Regions from separate parts of the Homo sapiens genome. Here regions 1, 2, 3, 5 and 6 are each linked to region 4. Evidence: promoter capture Hi-C in 16 types of primary human blood cells and fetal thymus (Javierre and others, 2016). All regions are on one chromosome and are shown on one strand. The core of a region is centred on a gene start or on the middle of the fragment in contact, and the rest is flanking DNA. Distances in the headings are between cores, read along the strand shown. Region 1 overlaps C5 (complement C5). Region 2 overlaps CNTRL (centriolin). Region 3 overlaps C5 (complement C5). Region 4 holds the start of PSMD5 (proteasome 26S subunit, non-ATPase 5). Region 5 overlaps C5 (complement C5). Region 6 overlaps C5 (complement C5).

Region 1 (2,986 bases), core at 27-2,526, 150 kb before region 4:
CATGTTAGTTATTCTTAGCTTTCAGTTCCAGGAACAATTTTCTGTCTTTGGGCAAGCTGGCATGCTATATTTTGCTGGTGAATAAGATTTATATAACCTATTTATTTCACATCTTATAATGACCAGGAAGCTTACAGCCAAATTTAATGCTTTATTTAATAAGATTATACAAGCCTAGGGTTTGATTAAAGTCCTTGATGATTTTTAACTTTCTTTTAAAATTTTAATAGTCTAATTATAAGTCTTTTATTTTGAAATATTCTTTGGAAGTAGATACATTATAAATAATCTGCAAACAGTCTTCCCCTGGAAACTCTGTATAAATCCAAATTTTCTAAATTACAGGTACCATTAGCAGACGAAAGGAGTTCCCATACAGGATACCCTTAGATTTGGTCCCCAAAACAGAAATCAAAAGGATTTTGAGTGTAAAAGGTAAATTAACAAATGCCATTTTTATTTCTCATTTCACTTGGTGCTTCAAACAAAAATCAAATATCCTCATGATTATTCTGTTTCTCCACTTCCGTGTTCAGTAGCACACACAAATCTACCTTTAGGAGTGCTCCACCCCTACCCACCCCCACTTTCAAACCTTTAATCACTTTTCCCACTATCTTCTTCCAACGGCCTGATTTACATGGAGATGCATTCTCCTCCAATGGAAGGTAGGGACTGTCATTGGCTCAAAGATGTCTCTAAAATGGGGGTCCAGTTGCTTCTAGACTTAAAGAACTTTCCATGGTCTTAGTGGCCAGTCCCGCTCCAGAGAAGGCCTATGGCCTGCACATGGCCTAGCGAGAACAGCACTGCTCTGCTGAAGTACTGGTCCCAGAAGGGTTGTCTTAGTCCATTTATGCTGCCATAACAAAATAACAAAATTTATAAATAATACAAATTTATTTCTCACAGTTCTGGAGGCTGGGAAGTCCAAGATCAAGGCATCAAGAGATTGGGTGTTTGGCAAGGGCTGCTCTCTGTTTCCATGAGGATATATGTTGCTGTATCCTCCTGTGGCAGAAAGTGGAAAGGCAAAAGGGCAAAAAGGGGTGAAGAACTTCCTCTTACCTCGTCTATAAGATTATTAATCCCACTCATTAGGGTGGAGCCATCATAACCTAATCACCTCTCAAAAAGCCCCACCTTCTAATACTATCACCTTGGTGATTAGGCTTCAGTGTATGAATTTTGGAGAGACATATACATTCAAACCATAGCAGGGATTCTCCTCCCCTCGCATACATTTGCAGAAGTGATATTTGCACAAGTGACTAGGTTTTCCTTAGTCTCCAGGCTTTACAATTCAATAACATATTACCGAATGATAGAATGTCCTGACTACATTTTATCTCAGATAAAACCCTAGAATCACAAAATGTTAGTACTGGAAAGGATCTTTTTGATCATGTGCAACCCTGCTGTTGGATATAAAAGAAAGTGGCATGTCCAAGGTTGCACAGTGAATTATAGACAGTCATGTCAGCACTCCCTGTTCAGGCTCTTTGCTTTGCTTCCTGGAAGGGATTGGTAAATATGGTTTATAATGTCTAAAGCTAACAGGTTGAATGGCAACTAATTTGCCATGTTCTCTTGCAGCAATCAGTCCACTGTATTACATTACCTACCACCATATTTTAGTGATTTTTAAAGTCTTTTTTTTTTTTGTTTCTTTCAAATTCATGTTCCTAACCGGATCTTTTTTTCTCACCCCGTTTCTGAGAAGCAAGTCAACTGCCTAGATAAAAAGGGAAGAACCATCTCTAGATGGTTGTTCTTCTCTCTTGAGAACATACTGTTAGAAGTTAATAAAAAGCAATGTGTCTACTTTGATCTTTTTTGTTTCAGGACTGCTTGTAGGTGAGATCTTGTCTGCAGTTCTAAGTCAGGAAGGCATCAATATCCTAACCCACCTCCCCAAAGGGAGTGCAGAGGCGGAGCTGATGAGCGTTGTCCCAGTATTCTATGTTTTTCACTACCTGGAAACAGGAAATCATTGGAACATTTTTCATTCTGACCCATTAATTGAAAAGCAGAAACTGAAGAAAAAATTAAAAGAAGGTAAAAAAAAAAAGTATTTCACATAAAAATTGGGTGATTCTAAACTAATATTTTTATTAAACTAATATTTAAGTTGTGAATTATAGAAAACTTTGTAAGAGAATTTTAGCAAAAAAATCATGAGATGGACTCTACTATATAAATAAATATTATTTCTGTAGCATTTTGGCTCAACTTACCAAAATGCCTGAATGAGAGGCAAGGCACCTGCATTCCAAACTACAGAACACTTCCTTCCTTTTCGAATGAGATCAGAATGTTCTACTTGATAATTCCCAATTCGAGCAATTCATATACTTCCTTTGAGAAGTTCAATGCTGGCCACAGAGCATATGCTTGCTGCCCAACACCAAAGGAAGCTTACCATTCTCAGGGCCTGATAAAGTGTTCTTTGAGTAGAAACGGAGGTCTGTTAAGCACCGTGTTCTTTTTCTTGTGCTTCTTAGGGATGTTGAGCATTATGTCCTACAGAAATGCTGACTACTCTTACAGTGTGTGGAAGGGTGGAAGTGCTAGCACTTGGTAAGTAGAAGATTTTGAGTTGCATTTTCATATAGTGGTTAATTAACTAAAGAATAATAACCATAATGGAAACTCCATTCCTCCAGTTGCTCAGGCTAAAAGCCTCGTCATCCTTCACTCCTCTCTTTCTCTTACCGTTCACATCTGATCCAGCAGATATGGATTCAAAATATATCCTTAATTTGACTACTTCTCACCACCTCCACCACACTATCCTGTTCCAAGACACCTTCCTCTCCCACCTGGATTCTTACACTAGTCTCCCTTAGTCTTCTGGGTTCAGCCCTTGATCCTCTTCAGTATATACTCAACACAGCAACTGAAGTGACCCTGTTAAAACATATGTTAGATCATGCCACTCAAAACCATTTAGGAGCTTCCCATCTTACCCAGAGTAAAAACCAAA
Region 2 (3,065 bases), core at 301-2,800, 250 kb before region 4:
CTCTTCCCATCATCCCATAGCATCAACAGCCCCAAGGTGATGCTGTACAACATGGGGTTGGGCTTGGGCTCTGAGGCTCTTGACTGTCACAGGATGAAATTAGAAAGCATAGGTATTGTTAACAACATGGCATTAAATGAATATTGCTTATTATTATTGGCCTCCACTGGTGAAGGCTTAAAGAATATAGCTTTAGACTTATTTAGTGTTTTAAAGTTTTTTTTAAAGCATTTTCACATCTATCATTTCATCTGAGCCCCCATAATACCCCTGTAAAGGAGGCAGTATAGGGATTGTTTTCCCCAAACAGTGGTTTTAGAGGGATTAAAGAATTCTCCAAGGTCATGGAAGGCAATTCTATAGAGGCCCATCTTTGAAGTCACATCTTTCATTTTCTATTCTACAACTGATGTTCATTAAATTATGGCACAATTTTCCCAATTTTAATACAAATTTAAATAAATTAACAAATTTACTAAGCAAATGCTTATTAAATACCTAGCTGTGAATAAATACCATAAGAAAATCATAAACTATATTCCAGAGAAAAATATACAACATCATCCAAATATGTAAATCATAACAAAGTTGCTCTATTATGAAAAGCTAGTGATCAACCTCCTATAACACCTAACATTATAATCAAAATAAACTGGTAAATTTGAAATTGGAAGTTAATACTGTCAAAAAAAAAAAAACCCAGAACTTTCTTCTAGGCATTCAGTGATCTGGATCCTGGCACAAAATGTGACTCTAGATAAGGGACTTAACCTGTCCTAGACCTTACTTGCTACTACCTAACTCATAGTGTTACAAAAATAATCCTTGTACTGCCTTCTTAACAAGAATGTTATGAGGCTTACATGAAATGATAAATGTAAAAATGCTAAGAGGTCAACCCTAGGTTGACCTAGGAACCCATGCAAAATGAGGACTGCTTGTATTTAATTAATCTAGAAAATCATGGGCTATGTCTGAATCTAGTGTTTAGTCAAAGGAGCAAAATCTTTAAAAGAAGAAATCCCATTTTTAAAAAACTTAGATATTTTTAATCTTTTATTTTTTAACAAGTCTAAAAATTCCTGCTATTTTGAATAACTTACCGATGATATCTTGTTGCCTTTCAAATTGAGGACTCGCAAAGATTTTAACTTCTTCCCTAACCATACTGGAATATGCTCAATTTCATTTCCTGCAAGGTTAAGCTTTTGCAGATTACACATATTTTCTATGCCTTCAATTTTGCTGGAAAGCAAAGGATAAAATAAAATTTAGTGAGTACAATTATAGAGTCTCTCCATTGTATTTTTAGAATAAACAGCTTTAGCTCCATGTTAGATTACTTTTCATAATGATAATTTATCAACTCTTTTCATAAATGAGAACAAAGAAAAGTGGCTAAAGCCAAATTTACCAGAACAGCTAAACTGCCAACTTTTTATTACTATGCCCAGGAATCCTATCAATCTTATTATTAGACTTTGCAACTCCATAACATAGAAAAGAAAAATGTGACCATGGCATTCTCACCGACTACTGTGAACAGTACTAGCAAACAGCCAGTGGAGACCTGGGAAACTCAATAGCACCCTGTCCTATCTGCTACATTCCTGTCCAAAAGATGTTCCTAATTATTGTCTTAAGTTATCATAAAAAGATTAGCTATGCCAGCAGGATATGGGAGCCCATAGATGATACTGTATTTAGGAATATAAGTAATTTAACCAGAACTTTTAAATAAAGCATTTATCACACATATTAATGAATTCTGATTGATGAAGGTTTTTCCCAAGTCACTTCTAATTTATTTGTCAATTTAATTCTTTGGTCAATTTTCTATACTGCACAAATACTTCAAAGCCTCTATCTACACTGGGTAAATATTTCTAAGCTTCTCTACTTTCAATTTTATTTTGCTGAAAATATTTTCATCAGAGTCAACTTTTTATACAAATTTTATAATAAGGGTTTGGTTCATTAATCATTTTTTTTCATTTCAGTTTTGTCATATCAGAACTTCTGCCATTGCTAGTCATTTTCTTGGCCATCATATTTACCAAGTCTAACTTGGGGGAAAAGCATGCAGATATTAAGAATTTCAAGATTTGATTCTTGTATCATTTTGTCTATAACAAGTTTTCTATATGAAGTTTTAGCCAGTGTCAGTTTTAGTATGTTTATTTCTCACAGTAATATATATTATGAATTGGAAACAGGATTGAGAGCATATTTCTTGTAGCAATAAGCAAAGAACATCAGAATCAAAACAGATTAGAACATCTTGGGGGTCAAAATGGCAGGGTTAAAACATTCTGCTTCATGTCAACATTCTTAATGTAATAAGGTAATAAATCACAGACAATATCTGGGAAAACTTCCTGTCAGAAATGAAATTAAGATACAATTTGGTGCTCAAAAATATATCTCTTTGATAATGCTAGATGTTATTCTGTACTTCAGTAATGCCAAAACATAAAGACAGTTACCTACCATATGTGAAGAGACAGACATTCATTTGATTGATGAATAAAGATAAAAATATCTTCTGTTTCTGTCAAATCATTCTTTCAGTAATGTGGATAACATTAATCTACCTCTCTAACAAAGCTATCTGCAATGCTGCCTAAAGATTTTGTTATATAACTCACCTGATTTTGTTATATGATAAGTTGAGTTCACGTAATTTTAACAGCTTGTCCAACTTTTCAATCTTCCCTATTAGATTATAGCTGAGATTCAGTACTTCAAGTTTAACACATTTTTCCAAATTCTCAATATACTAATTGGAAACAAATGAATGAATACTTTACACAACAGATGACTTGACATAAAGTACAACATTTACTTATGTGCATCAGGGTCTGTTTGATCAGTCATCAGAAAATAATATACCCTTACTGCTCTCCTGGAGAATCCCTTGATGCAGCTCTCCTTGACTAGGAGTAATAACTCTACTCAAGCTACCAAACTCTCTTTGCCCTTCAGTTGACAACAACATTGTCTATATACTAAGAAGCTCAAGACTATCCAACAAGATTTCCCTCACTGTCATTCCCTCTACCTCA
Region 3 (2,811 bases), core at 78-2,577, 190 kb before region 4:
TCTGGTGTTTATAAAGCCAACAAAATTCACATTTAGTTTATCAAAAACATCATTGTTTGTTTGTTTGTTTGTTTGTTGTTGTTTTTACGTGTTGTTACACTTCATCTTTTAGATGTACAACGAGAGTTGAGTCTCTTCAAGATAATGAGGAGAGATGGGGAAGATTGGAAAAAGAAGAAGGGAAATGGCTGAAATGAACCATATTTCCCTTCTATAACATTTAACAGATCTTCATCCTTCATATTTAATTTGAAGACATGGGTATTTGTCTTCAAATATTTGATCTATAAATATTTTGTACATCAAAGATTGTATAATCAGTTAAATTTTTTAAAATGTAGTTTCTGGCCTTTGAGGGTGTTTGTTTTTATTTACAGGATCCTGAAGGATCAGAAGTTGACATGGTAGAAGAAATTGATCATATTGGAATTATCTCTTTTCCTGACTTCAAGATTCCGTCTAATCCTAGGTATGTAAAAATAGTTGTTAATAAAACCACATACGGAACTTTTGGTGAAGAAGCAGGTAACCAGTTAAAGGGGGCCACCTAATGTTAACAAAGGGTGTCACATAGGTGGATATGCAAAATCTTTTGAAGTTCTAGCAAGAACTTAAGCTCTGTTCTTGGCAAAAAATTTCCAATACTTCTCAGCCATTCTTTTTACATATAGAAATAAAAATTGGGAAGAGGAAAAAATAGTACCCAGGTTTTTTTGTCATAAAAAACATCAACTCCTACCCCTCAAAGTATCTAATAGATTGTCAGTTTAAAAGGCTGGTGTGGTCTTGTTCCTTGCTCTGGTTGCTATAAAATAGGGTCGTCTGTAGTTTTTGCCTGGATAAACTACCAGAAGGCAAAGTCCAAGAGGGAAGGAGTTCTCAGAGCTATATCTATTATTTGGCCTCACATGAAAGGATTTAAGAAAAAGTTTAAACAGGGTTCAATGTAATAAATATTCAATGAACACATTCTTGGTATGTGCAAATCACAATAAGAGGGAGAGATACAAAATAAATAATCCACAGTCCCTGCTTTCAAGAAATTTGTAATAGGCCAGGTGCGGTGGCTCATGCCTGTAATCCCAACGCTTTGGGAGGCCAATGTCGGTGGATCACCTGAGGTCAGGAATTTGAGACCAGCCTGGCCAACATGGTGAAACCCCGTCTCTATCAAAAATACAAAAAAAGCCAGGCGTGGTGGCAGGCACCTGTAATCCCAGCTACTCGGGAGGCTGAGGCAGGAGAATCGCTTGAATCTGGGAGGTGAGGGTTAAAGTGAGCCAAGATCATGCCACTGCACTCCATGTTGGGCAACAGGAGCAAAACTCCAACTAAGATAGAAAGAAGAAGGAAGGAAGGAAGGAAGGAAAGAAAGAGGGAGGGGAGGGAGGAAGGAAGGAGGGAAGAAAAGAAAGAAAGAAATTTATAATAGAGCAGAATGAATAAGACAAGTGCATCTATACATGGCTGCACTAGAATTTTAGAACAACATCTTTTTATGGTCATTTTTCCTCTGCCCTCAGTTAATTCGCTGACTGAAATTTTTCTAAAAATTTAAATTGAATTTGGAGGTTTTAAATAACTTGGATAATTTAAAAATTGTGTACATTCTTGAAAATACTACATGTTCCATAGTGCAGAATTAAACCTATTATTTTATTACTGCTATCATTTCTCCAACTTCATCTTGTGCCACTTGCCCCATGGCAAATTATGTGCTAGCCATGGTCTGGCATGTCCAGTGCTTTCCTACCTCCGTGCCTTTGCACATGTCATCCCCTCTACTTGGAATGGGCTTCACCTGGCTCTTCATAAGCCTGGCTTCTTTTCATTGTTATGACCCAGAGTAGAAGCTACTACAAAAAGGCTATTCCTGGATGCATGATGTAATGTAATCTCTTGCTTTGTTTTACTCCCTATCTCAGCATCTTGTTTATTTTCTTCATGACACTTATCTCAATGTCATAATCATTTCTTTACTTGCTTGCTGGCATTTTTATTCCCCACTAGCTTATAAACTCTTTAAGGTGGGCCTTGTCTGTATTGCACACCAGCAGTTCAACATAATAGGCCCTTGATAAATATTCATTGAATTGATGATGATGGTAATAATCATTATTATAATACTATTAACATTTGTGGACTTCATAGCCAATCTGCAAGGTAGGCTCAGTATATATATGTGTGTGTGTGTGTATATATATGTGTGTATACACACATATATACATACATACACACACACACACACACACACACACCCATAGTTTTTTTGAAACAGAGTCTCACTCTGTCACCCAGGCTGGAGTGCAGTGGTGTGATCTCAGCTCACCACAGCCTTGATCTCGCGGGCTCAAGCAATTCTCCCACCTCAGCCTCCTAAGTAGCTGGGACTACAAGCATGCACCACCACACCAGACTAATTTTTGTATTTTTTTGTAGAGATGGGGTTTCATCATGTTGCCTGGGCTGGTCTCGAACTCCTGGGCTCAAGCGATCCTCCTGCCTTGGCCTCCCAAAGTGCTGGGATTATAGGCATGAGCCACTATACCTGGCCTAGTATATGTTTTTGAATAAAGGTTATTAATTAAAGCCAGGTCATTTTCATCTTTTAAAAACCATGCTTTGTTTCCAACCATAAATTCATTTTTGTGAGGTGTAAATTTTATCATCTGTATAAGCTTGTCTTGTATTATATGTTTCTAGAGACGTTATTATGGATTTTGTACTGTATTTTGGATTTTAGTATTATGTTAGCATAATTAGGCTCCAAGATTAAATAAATTCTCAGAAATAATAAGTTCTTCAAATCAA
Region 4 (2,931 bases), core at 409-2,908:
ATTAGAATGAACAAAGAATAATGAATCTGGGTGATTGGGACCTCTGTCCACAGTTAGCAACATTCTGATTTCCAGATTTTTTTTGTTAAATGACTTCGGATTTGATGGATAAAAAAATTGTAAAACTAATCCAAAAAGTGGCAGTGGTGATTCTGGGTGTGATTACAAGAAAACAGGAAGGCGTTTATCTCTAAAAGACAAGTGGGGTGTTAGAGTCTTTGTAAAGCAGCAGTGGTTTTATCATTTTGTCACCTGAGGCACTGCCACAAAAAAATGAGGGAAATCCTGTCCTTAGCTTCCTCTAAGCTTTCCAGATTTTTGTCTTTTGCCCCAAAAGTAGGAAGGCATGCACTGCAAAAGATGGGTCATCTCCTTGGCGTTGAAGACCTGTTGAGGCACAAAGCCTCTCTCCAGTTGCTTGGAATACTCGATACCCACTCAGGATTTAAGGGTCCTTCCTCCCCATCAACTTCGTATGTTGCAAAACAGCAGCGATTTTTAAAGTTCTCAAACCATCCCTTGCTCGCATGATACTTATTTGGGTTGTCCTCCCCAGATGTTTCCCATTGGTTCCCTGTAGATGTATTTGGCCTGGTTGCAGAGGGCCTTCCGGGTCAGATGCCGCCCTCTGTCATCTGGCCTTCCACCTAAAAGGTTAACTGGGTCTCCACCTTCACGATGTTTACATTACAGGGGAATACACAGCAGCTTAGAGCAGATGGGCGACCAACTCTCCACGCTGGTCTTTCTTGGTTTCCTGAGGGTAGTGGAGGACAAGAGGGGAAAGCAGGGTCTTGCTCTGTCGCCCAGGCTGGAGTGCAGTGGCACAATCACCGCTCACTGAAGCCTCGACCTCCTAGACTTAGGGGACCCTCCCGCTTCAGCCTCCCGAGTAGCTGGGACTACAGGTGCGTGCCACCACACCGCACTAATTTTTTTCCTTTTTTTTTTTTTTTCTTTTTGGTAGAGACGGGTTTCTCACTATGTTGCCCAGGCTGGTCTCGAACTCCCGGGCTCAAGCGATCCTCCCGCCGCGGCCTCCCAAAGCGCTGGGATTACAGGTACGGCCACTGCGACCAGCTGCTTCTCCTTGGTGGACTGATCAACACCAACAAGGCGGCGCACGTCCCTATTACTCACGCCTTCGTCAGGCTCCTGGAGAATATTCATCCAGTCTTCCAGAGGCATGACGCTCCGCCTCCTCTTGACAGGTGGCTGGCCCAGGATCAAGATTCCCCTCCAGGCCACCGCTCCACCTGGGGAGGCCTCAGCCGCGGCCGTAGCCGCGGTGGCCTCCATAACGGCTGCAGTCGTCCCCGCCTAGAGCCTGGTTTTGGAGCCTCGAGGACGCCGACGAGGCTGTTTAACTTCCCGTGAGTCCCCACCCTCGCCGCTCCGCTGGCCGGGAATTTGGCAAGGCTTTGCCCTACGCGGTAAACACGTAAGCCTACTGGCCTCCGCATTTCCCTGAGCAGCGACCTAGATGACGCCAGACTGAGGGAGCCGCAACCACTGGCTACAGTTGACACGGCCCTAACGGAGGCTTCTCGCGAGGCTTGGCAGCCCCATAGCCATCTCAGGGACAAGGAGGCTGTGATCAGATCTCGCGAGGTTCAGGAAAGCGCCCCGGGAACTGGGCCGCTGGGCCAGCCCCTGCGTCGGGGGGCAAGATGGCAGCCCAGGCTTTGGCGCTGCTGAGAGAGGTAGCGAGGCTGGAAGCGCCGCTGGAGGAGCTACGCGCGCTTCACTCCGTGCTGCAGGCAGTGCCGCTCAACGAGCTTCGCCAGCAAGCGGCGGAGCTGCGCCTCGGCCCGCTCTTCTCCCTGCTTAACGAGAACCATAGGTGAGAGGACCCCGGGGGCTTGAGCCGAGGAGAGGGGCACCCCTAAATATGGACATGAGAGTGGTTGAGGGCAAGAACAGCGCTTTTCCCAGTCACAGGGGAGGTGGAAAGTAGCCGAAATTTGCAGAGAAGGAAGGATCCTGGGTTCAGAGGCAGGAGATGGGGTTCAGGTTCAGCCTCTGAGAGTGCCCCAGGGTGTTTTCTCCCGTCGCCTGGCCTCGCTGCCTCTGAGCAGTGAGGCACTGCCTTCTTCATCAAATAGAAATTAAAGGAGGAAAGCAAAGCTGTCCACTTACAAGGAGCATTCCACATCTCTTTGTACAGGTTCTTGATTTGTTTCCCCTTCTAAAAGGATCCTATCCTGGCAATGTGGCAAGAACCATCAGCATTTTAAATTCACATGCTTTTTCATCCAGTCATTCTTGTTAAAAAAATTTAATGCAAGTATACGCGCACAAAATGTGCAGTTACTTTGTTCTTTCGAACCCGAGGCTGGAATCGCCCCAAAAGCAGCGGCAAGAGAGTTCCCACGAGGGAGTGCTTCAAACCTTCCCGAGATGTGGCTGGTTGGGATGACAGAAAAAGAAGCACTGAATGCCAAGGCGATCAGTCCAAAAGCGTTTAGGGGGAAACCTGCAGAGGGCTGCAGAAATTGTCAAGACGGACACCGGGAGAAAGGTGTTCCTGGGTATGTCCGCAGTGAGGGGGTCAGGGTATGGAGTTCAGATGAGAGTTTAAAGGAATTTGGCTCAGGGTTGAGGCCAGTTTCTTCCAGTGTTTTGGGCAACAACCTAGGTACCTTTATCAGGCCTGTGAATGTTCAAGGCCCCTGGTTTATGGTCAAGCCTGCTAGGGAAACCTGCCGCTGGCTAGGTCAGAGAGCAATCAAGGCACTCTGATTTTCCATCAGGACAGAGAAAGAAAGGGGGCGACTGGAGGACCCTACAACATTATATGCAAGAATATAACATATCGTGTGTGGCACCAGAACACTAGAAACAATCTAAATATCCGTTAACAGAGGATTCCAAATTATGCGCTATTACTCTGTAACACTGTGCAGTTATTTAAGTTATTGAGGTAGATGT
Region 5 (2,899 bases), core at 201-2,700, 130 kb before region 4:
ATGAGTTAGCCAAGTGAAGAAAAAGGAAGAACATTCCAGACATAGATAACAGCGCACAGAGCAGTACAGTGAGCGTAGGAGGGAAGGCATGTCTGGGAGGCTGCTGGTGGTCCCTTCTGGCCCTGGTCATACATGCAGACTGTGGCCAGGTTGGAGTTGGCCTTTAGGGTCCCCAGCTCCTTGCCCCATGTCCTTTGCTACTGCTGGATTTTTAAAGGTGGTAACTTTGATGGCTTATGAAAATTTCACAAAGAACAAGACATGTTGGAAAAACTGGGTTCTATATTAATATTAGCTGCCCACATATAGCTGCTGATACATATTTTTCTAATTACTGTGTTTGCATTATTTTAAAGTATATTTAAATGTACAGTAATTGGAAATAATCCTCATTGTTGACATCCTTCACAAATTGGTGTTTGTTAAAAGTAAACAAGCATGAGAAATAATTTTTTTTTTTTGAGATGGAGTTTCGCTCTTGTTGCCCAGGCTGGAGTGCAATGGCGCAACCTCGGCTCACTGCAACCTCCTGGGTTCAAGCAATTCTCCTGCCTCAGCCTCCAAAGCAGGCGGGATTATAGGCGCCTGCCACCACACCTGGCTCATTTTTTGTATTTTTGGTAGATATGGGGTTTCACCATTTGGCCAGGCTGGTCTCAAACTCCTGACCTCTGGTGATCCACCCACCTTGGCCTCCCAAAGTGCTGGGATTACAGGTGTGAGCCACCATGCCCAGCAGAGAAATAAAATTTAATGCAAAAATTGCAAACTGGTGGCCCATACTGAAAAAAAAGAATATGGATATAAACATAGACATAGATATATGCCAACATTTAAGGATCCAGATATTTCAAATAAAAACCTGATTCCCAACTTCCCTTGATAAACCAAAAGACCTGAAAGCAAAGCACCAGGCATTGGCATGGCTTCTACAATTTACTGCAGTCCCCACCAGTCACAGGACGTATGCATGTGCATTTATGTTCATACCTGCTTTGTGCCCGGGCCTCTGCAGGCATTTGTGCTTGTGGTCCCTAGTTTGGGAATATGTCTCCTTTCCCTGGGATCATTTAGAGTTCACCGGAGATTCATGTTCTGAGTCTAAGCTCTAAGAAGGATCTCTTGACCTTCCAGCTACCTGAGGTAGCTGAAATTATTCTTCTCTATAGGGATAATGCTGTAAGAGGCCTCTTGTCATCCTAACAAAATTTAAACCCCAGCCCAGGATGCTGCTTCCATGTAAAACCTGGGCTGTTATTATCCAGTGTGGAATTTTCTACTCCAGCATTTCCTGAAATGTGTTCCATGAAAGAGTGTTAGGTGGTTGAGTGTGCATTAATTAAGTTAAACAAATTAATTTAAATTAAGTTAAACAAGTTCTTTAATCCAGAATTCCCCTGTTCTGTAACATGTATGTGATTAAGTGTGGTGACTCTGGGTGTGAAAAGGGGCAGAGGCAGGGCACAGTGCACAGCATTTCCCAAACTTATTTGTCATGCATGCTTTTCACATGCAGTATCTCAAGACACCTGTTTTCCAACAAATGCTGCTATATTCTATCAGGGAGAACAAGAATGTTGACCTACTTTCCTACATTTACTAAAATTTGAAGGAAGGATTGAGAAACTTTAACATATGCCCAATCCATCTTGCATTATTGTGCTAAGCAAAGGAAAGGGGAGGCTTGGAGTAAAGGAAGTGCCAACCCCTCGGGCTCAAAATTATCTCTCCTGTACTTTCCACAAATTAGGGAGCATTTGGATGACAGAGTTTCTCTGGAGAGGAGAATGACTTAACTCCGTTTATGTCTTCAGTTTCCTCCTAGCAGAGTGGGAAGAAGAGCAGCAGCAACTAAGGATTTGGCAGGCTTGAGTGGGGTGCTAGTGGTTTGGGGTGGGGTACCAGGGGTTTCTGCAAACAAAGGCGGTGACAAGTGGAAAAGATAAATCATCAAGAGATGGAAAAGGGGTGCAAAGGAGGAGCTCAGAGAGGACCAAAGATAGATGCACCCGCTTTCAAGTTATGTGGAGGTTCCCTGCTCTGGGTTCTAATGAAAACGATCTCCATTGGCACACAGGATGCTGATTCCTGAGCTAGGCACAGAAAGGAATTTATTCAGTTGGCAAAAGGAGATGAAGATCCAGATTTACCATAGCCATATGTAAATGAAAATGTAACCAGAAGTGACCTCTGACATGTTGCTTTTGTTGGTTCACTCAGGAGATCTCAGACATCTTATTTACATGTAGAAGGGAAAGGGGAAATACCAGCCTTGTTTAGCACCTGCCATGGGCATAGGATTTTCAGTGTCTCATCCAGTTACTCTCAGAAGAGCTCTGAGAGAGGAGGCTGGTACATGTCAACCCACTTTTCATAGCTCTATCCTCCCTCCCTATCAAATGATGAAAGAAAGCATGGTTTGTTTCTCTATTATCTTTCCAGGTGCTTCTCAATGATGACCTCATTGTCAGTACAGGATTTGGCAGTGGCTTGGCTACAGTACATGTAAGTATTTAATTGATATCCAATAACGAGTTATGTGTCCATTTGTACTAGGTAACATAAAAGTTAGGAGCTTTGCCACAAAGTCACAGAAATCTGGGCTTGGGTAACCATGACTAAAGTGGGATTCACTTATGTAAATCTTTCTAGCAATCTTTGTAACTATCCTCACAATTTTTTTGAAAATAACAATGTTGGTCAGGCATGGTGGCTCACGCCTTTAATCCCAGCACTTTGGGAGGCCTAGGCGGGCAGACCACGAGGTCAGGAGATCAAGACCACCCTGGCTAACACGGTGAAACCCCGTCTGTACTAAAAATACAAAAAATTAGCCGGGCATGGTGGCGTGCGCCTGTATTCCCAGCTACTCAGAGGCTGAGGCAGGAGAATCACTTGA
Region 6 (2,871 bases), core at 85-2,584, 170 kb before region 4:
TCTGAGCCTCAGTTTCTTAAATGAGGAGAATAATATTCCTCTTATTGATGTATTGTGAGAATGAAAGGAGTTAAATACATGTTAAAGTTCCTGGCACATAGTAGGCCCATAAACGTTAACTCACTCTTTCTTCCTTCCTTCCTTCCTTCCTTCCTTCCTTCCTTCCTTCCTTCCTTCCTTCCTTCCTTTCCTTCCTTCCTTCCTTCTTTCTTTCTTTCTTTTCTTTCTTTCTTTCCCTCCCTCCCTCCCTTCTTTCCTTCCTTCCTTCCTTCTTTCTTTCTTTCCCTCCCTCCCTCCCTCCCTTCTTTCTTGCCTTCCTTCCTTCCTTCCTTCCTTCCTTCCTTCCTTCCTTTCTTTTTGGTGGAGTCTCACTCTGTCCCCCAAGCTGGAGTGCAGTGGCATGATTTCGACTCACTGCAACCTCTGCCTCCCAAGTTCAAGCAATTCTCCTGCCTCAGCCTTCCGAGTAGCTGGGATTACATATGCCCACCACAGTGCCCGGCTAATTTTTTTATTTTTAGTAGAGCCAGGGTTTCACCATGTTGGCCAGGCAGGTCTCAAACTCCTGACCTCAGGTGATCTGCCTGCCTTGGCCTCCCAAACTTCTGGGATTACAGGTGTGAGCCACCGTGCCCAGCCAAAATTGGTATGTCTTTTTTTTTTTTTTTTTTTTTTTTTGAGACAGAGTCTTGCTCTGTTGCACAGGCTGGAGTGCAGTGGCATGATCTCAGCTCACTGCAAACTTCACCTCTCGGGCTCCAGTAATTCTCATGCCTCAGCCTCCCGAGTAGGTGTGATTACAGTCATGCACCACCATGCCTGGCTAACTTTTGTATTTTTAGTAGAGATGGTGTTTCACTATGTTGGCCAGGCTGGTCTTGAACTCCTGGCCTCAAGTGATCGGCCCACCTCGGCCTCCCAAAGTGCTAGGATTACAGGTGTGAGCCACTGTGCCCAGCCTAACTTTATTTTTCTTTAACATAATTTCTGCTCCAGCTCCAGGCTGCATCCTAAAGCACAGGTTTTGTTTTTGTTTGTTTATTTTTTACTTATTGTTGCTGCTGCTGTTTATTTTTAGATTTTATCCAAGGGCAAAATTATCCACTTTGGCACGAGGGAGAAATTTTCAGATGCATCTTATCAAAGTATAAACATTCCAGTAACACAGAACATGGTTCCTTCATCCCGACTTCTGGTCTATTACATCGTCACAGGAGAACAGACAGCAGAATTAGTGTCTGATTCAGTCTGGTTAAATATTGAAGAAAAATGTGGCAACCAGCTCCAGGTAAGCCACAAATTATAAGTCACAATTGAATTTTCTTTTCAATGAAGGAGGCTGCCAAAGTTTTAGCTGCTTCTGAAAAGTCTTGTCTCATACAAATGATCTTTTCTTTTCTTTTTCAAATGAACTTTTAGGTTCATCTGTCTCCTGATGCAGATGCATATTCTCCAGGCCAAACTGTGTCTCTTAATATGGCAACTGGAATGGATTCCTGGGTGGCATTAGCAGCAGTGGACAGTGCTGTGTATGGAGTCCAAAGAGGAGCCAAAAAGCCCTTGGAAAGAGTTAAGTAATGCATGTCTCGCTGCAGTGTTGCATGAAGTGTGGCCACCAGGCTAGGATATGGAGGAAGAACTAAGGGAAGACTAGGCCTGCTTTTCTGTAATCTACTCAACATACTCATTTTTAGGAAGGTAAACCATCCTCCTGTCAGCTCCCAAAGCACAGGTCAATCCTCTTTTGTTTTTCAAATGTAAATGTAAGCACTTTAAGAATATATGATCATGGTAGCAATTACATTCATGGAGGAAAAATTACTATCAGAATACTTTGGAGGTTTAGGGTAGGGTGTTGATGGCAGTTATAGTAGCTAGTAGCAGCACAGGAAAGACCTGTATAGGTAACATTTGGATTTTTTTTAAATTCTCATTGAAATCCATAGCACAGAAGAATCTCAAAATCATTCAATTCTCATAAGTTCCTATTTATCTTATTATGTTCAGCTATTATTTTCGAGGCTTGAATGTCTTTGAACAAGGAAGGAAGGACTGAGAAACTGTAAAATTAAAAAATACTCGGAGAACGAATAAGCCTGTCCAAACAAGTCTTCAGCCATTTAGAACCTAGGGACCTCCCCACCAAAATGCACAAAGTTGTGCTTTTAAAGCAACTTAAAATTAATTTCTATGTTAATTCAGTCCTTCATGCATTCATACCTATTTATTTATTTATTTGGAACATTATATTGATTGCAGCATTCATTCTATGTACAAAACACTATATATCAGTTTCTAAGAAACTCCTCATCAAAGCTATTTGTTTAAGACTTAGTTCTTGATTTAACTTTGAATAGTTATGTATTTATAAATACAAAAGGACAAACTTAGAAACAAAGTTGGGAAATTTTGTCTTTGATCATTTGAAAAATATCATCTGTGTATTTCACTGGTTTGTGATAACCATGTAACAATTAGTACCTTTTAGATCTTTAGAGGAATGATTTATACATCTCAATGTGCTCAACATTTTGCCTTTCTGGACAGGTATTTCAATTCTTAGAGAAGAGTGATCTGGGCTGTGGGGCAGGTGGTGGCCTCAACAATGCCAATGTGTTCCACCTAGCTGGACTTACCTTCCTCACTAATGCAAATGCAGATGACTCCCAAGAAAATGGTAAAATGCTCAGCATGTTTATTACTGAAAATCCCATTGATCATTTGCCCCCCAGATCTCATTTTTATCCTTCTTCCCAAATATTCTGTACCCTGATCTTAGAATGCCAAGACTACATAACTCACCTGTATAAAATGTTTCACTGGCCTTCAAGATAAAGTACAAATTCTTTAGTGTAGTACTCAAAACCTTCC

Evidence for each region. Contacts are between HindIII fragments. The CHiCAGO score rates a contact against its expected background, and 5 or more counts as called.
Region 1: a fragment that was not itself captured here is called in contact with the fragment with the promoter of PSMD5 in region 4 in 9 of 17 cell types (naive CD4 T cells, naive CD8 T cells, total CD4 T cells and 6 more); the score reaches 11.2 in naive CD4 T cells.
Region 2: a contact is called between a fragment that was not itself captured here and the fragment with the promoter of PSMD5 in region 4, in 5 of 17 cell types (naive CD4 T cells, non-activated CD4 T cells, total CD8 T cells and 2 more). The highest score is 8.9, in naive CD4 T cells.
Region 3: a contact is called between a fragment that was not itself captured here and the fragment with the promoter of PSMD5 in region 4, in 3 of 17 cell types (naive CD8 T cells, total CD4 T cells and total B cells). The highest score is 6.7, in naive CD8 T cells.
Region 5: a contact is called between a fragment that was not itself captured here and the fragment with the promoter of PSMD5 in region 4, in 8 of 17 cell types (non-activated CD4 T cells, naive CD8 T cells, total CD4 T cells and 5 more). The highest score is 8.8, in non-activated CD4 T cells.
Region 6: a fragment that was not itself captured here is called in contact with the fragment with the promoter of PSMD5 in region 4 in 1 of 17 cell types (total CD4 T cells); the score reaches 5.0 in total CD4 T cells.

The regions. Positions count from the first base shown.
Region 1 is chr9:120,988,640-120,991,625 of GRCh38, reverse strand. It overlaps C5 (complement C5), which reads left to right. Exons shown (of 41, transcript NM_001735.3): 23 at 346-435; 24 at 1,846-2,058; 25 at 2,505-2,580. Among named protein-coding and RNA genes, the nearest start is that of C5-OT1, 37 kb to the right of the region's middle. The HindIII fragment of the contact is 2,287 bases long and covers 133-2,419 here.
Region 2 is chr9:121,094,602-121,097,666 of GRCh38, reverse strand. It overlaps CNTRL (centriolin), which reads right to left. Exons shown (of 44, transcript NM_007018.6): 5 at 2,649-2,779; 6 at 1,104-1,245. Among named protein-coding and RNA genes, the nearest start is that of CNTRL, 21 kb to the right of the region's middle. The HindIII fragment of the contact is 686 bases long and covers 1,208-1,893 here.
Region 3 is chr9:121,032,461-121,035,271 of GRCh38, reverse strand. It overlaps C5 (complement C5), which reads left to right. Exons shown (of 41, transcript NM_001735.3): 5 at 378-469. Among named protein-coding and RNA genes, the nearest start is that of C5, 16 kb to the left of the region's middle. The HindIII fragment of the contact is 2,707 bases long and covers 1-2,680 here.
Region 4 is chr9:120,841,649-120,844,579 of GRCh38, reverse strand. PSMD5 (proteasome 26S subunit, non-ATPase 5) reads left to right here and starts at 1,658. Exons shown (of 10, transcript NM_005047.4): 1 at 1,658-1,843. The coding sequence starts at 1,671. It also overlaps the pseudogene CUTALP. RefSeq lists enhancers at 1,087-1,436, 1,395-1,689, 1,455-1,749, 1,637-1,936, 1,508-2,037. The HindIII fragment of the contact is 10,742 bases long and covers 309-2,931 here.
Region 5 is chr9:120,971,536-120,974,434 of GRCh38, reverse strand. C5 (complement C5) reads left to right here. Exons shown (of 41, transcript NM_001735.3): 31 at 2,443-2,505. Among named protein-coding and RNA genes, the nearest start is that of C5-OT1, 20 kb to the right of the region's middle. The HindIII fragment of the contact is 5,007 bases long and covers 1-2,899 here.
Region 6 is chr9:121,016,060-121,018,930 of GRCh38, reverse strand. C5 (complement C5) reads left to right here. Exons shown (of 41, transcript NM_001735.3): 13 at 1,079-1,288; 14 at 1,420-1,569; 15 at 2,548-2,677. Among named protein-coding and RNA genes, the nearest start is that of C5, 33 kb to the left of the region's middle. The HindIII fragment of the contact is 7,296 bases long and covers 1-2,871 here.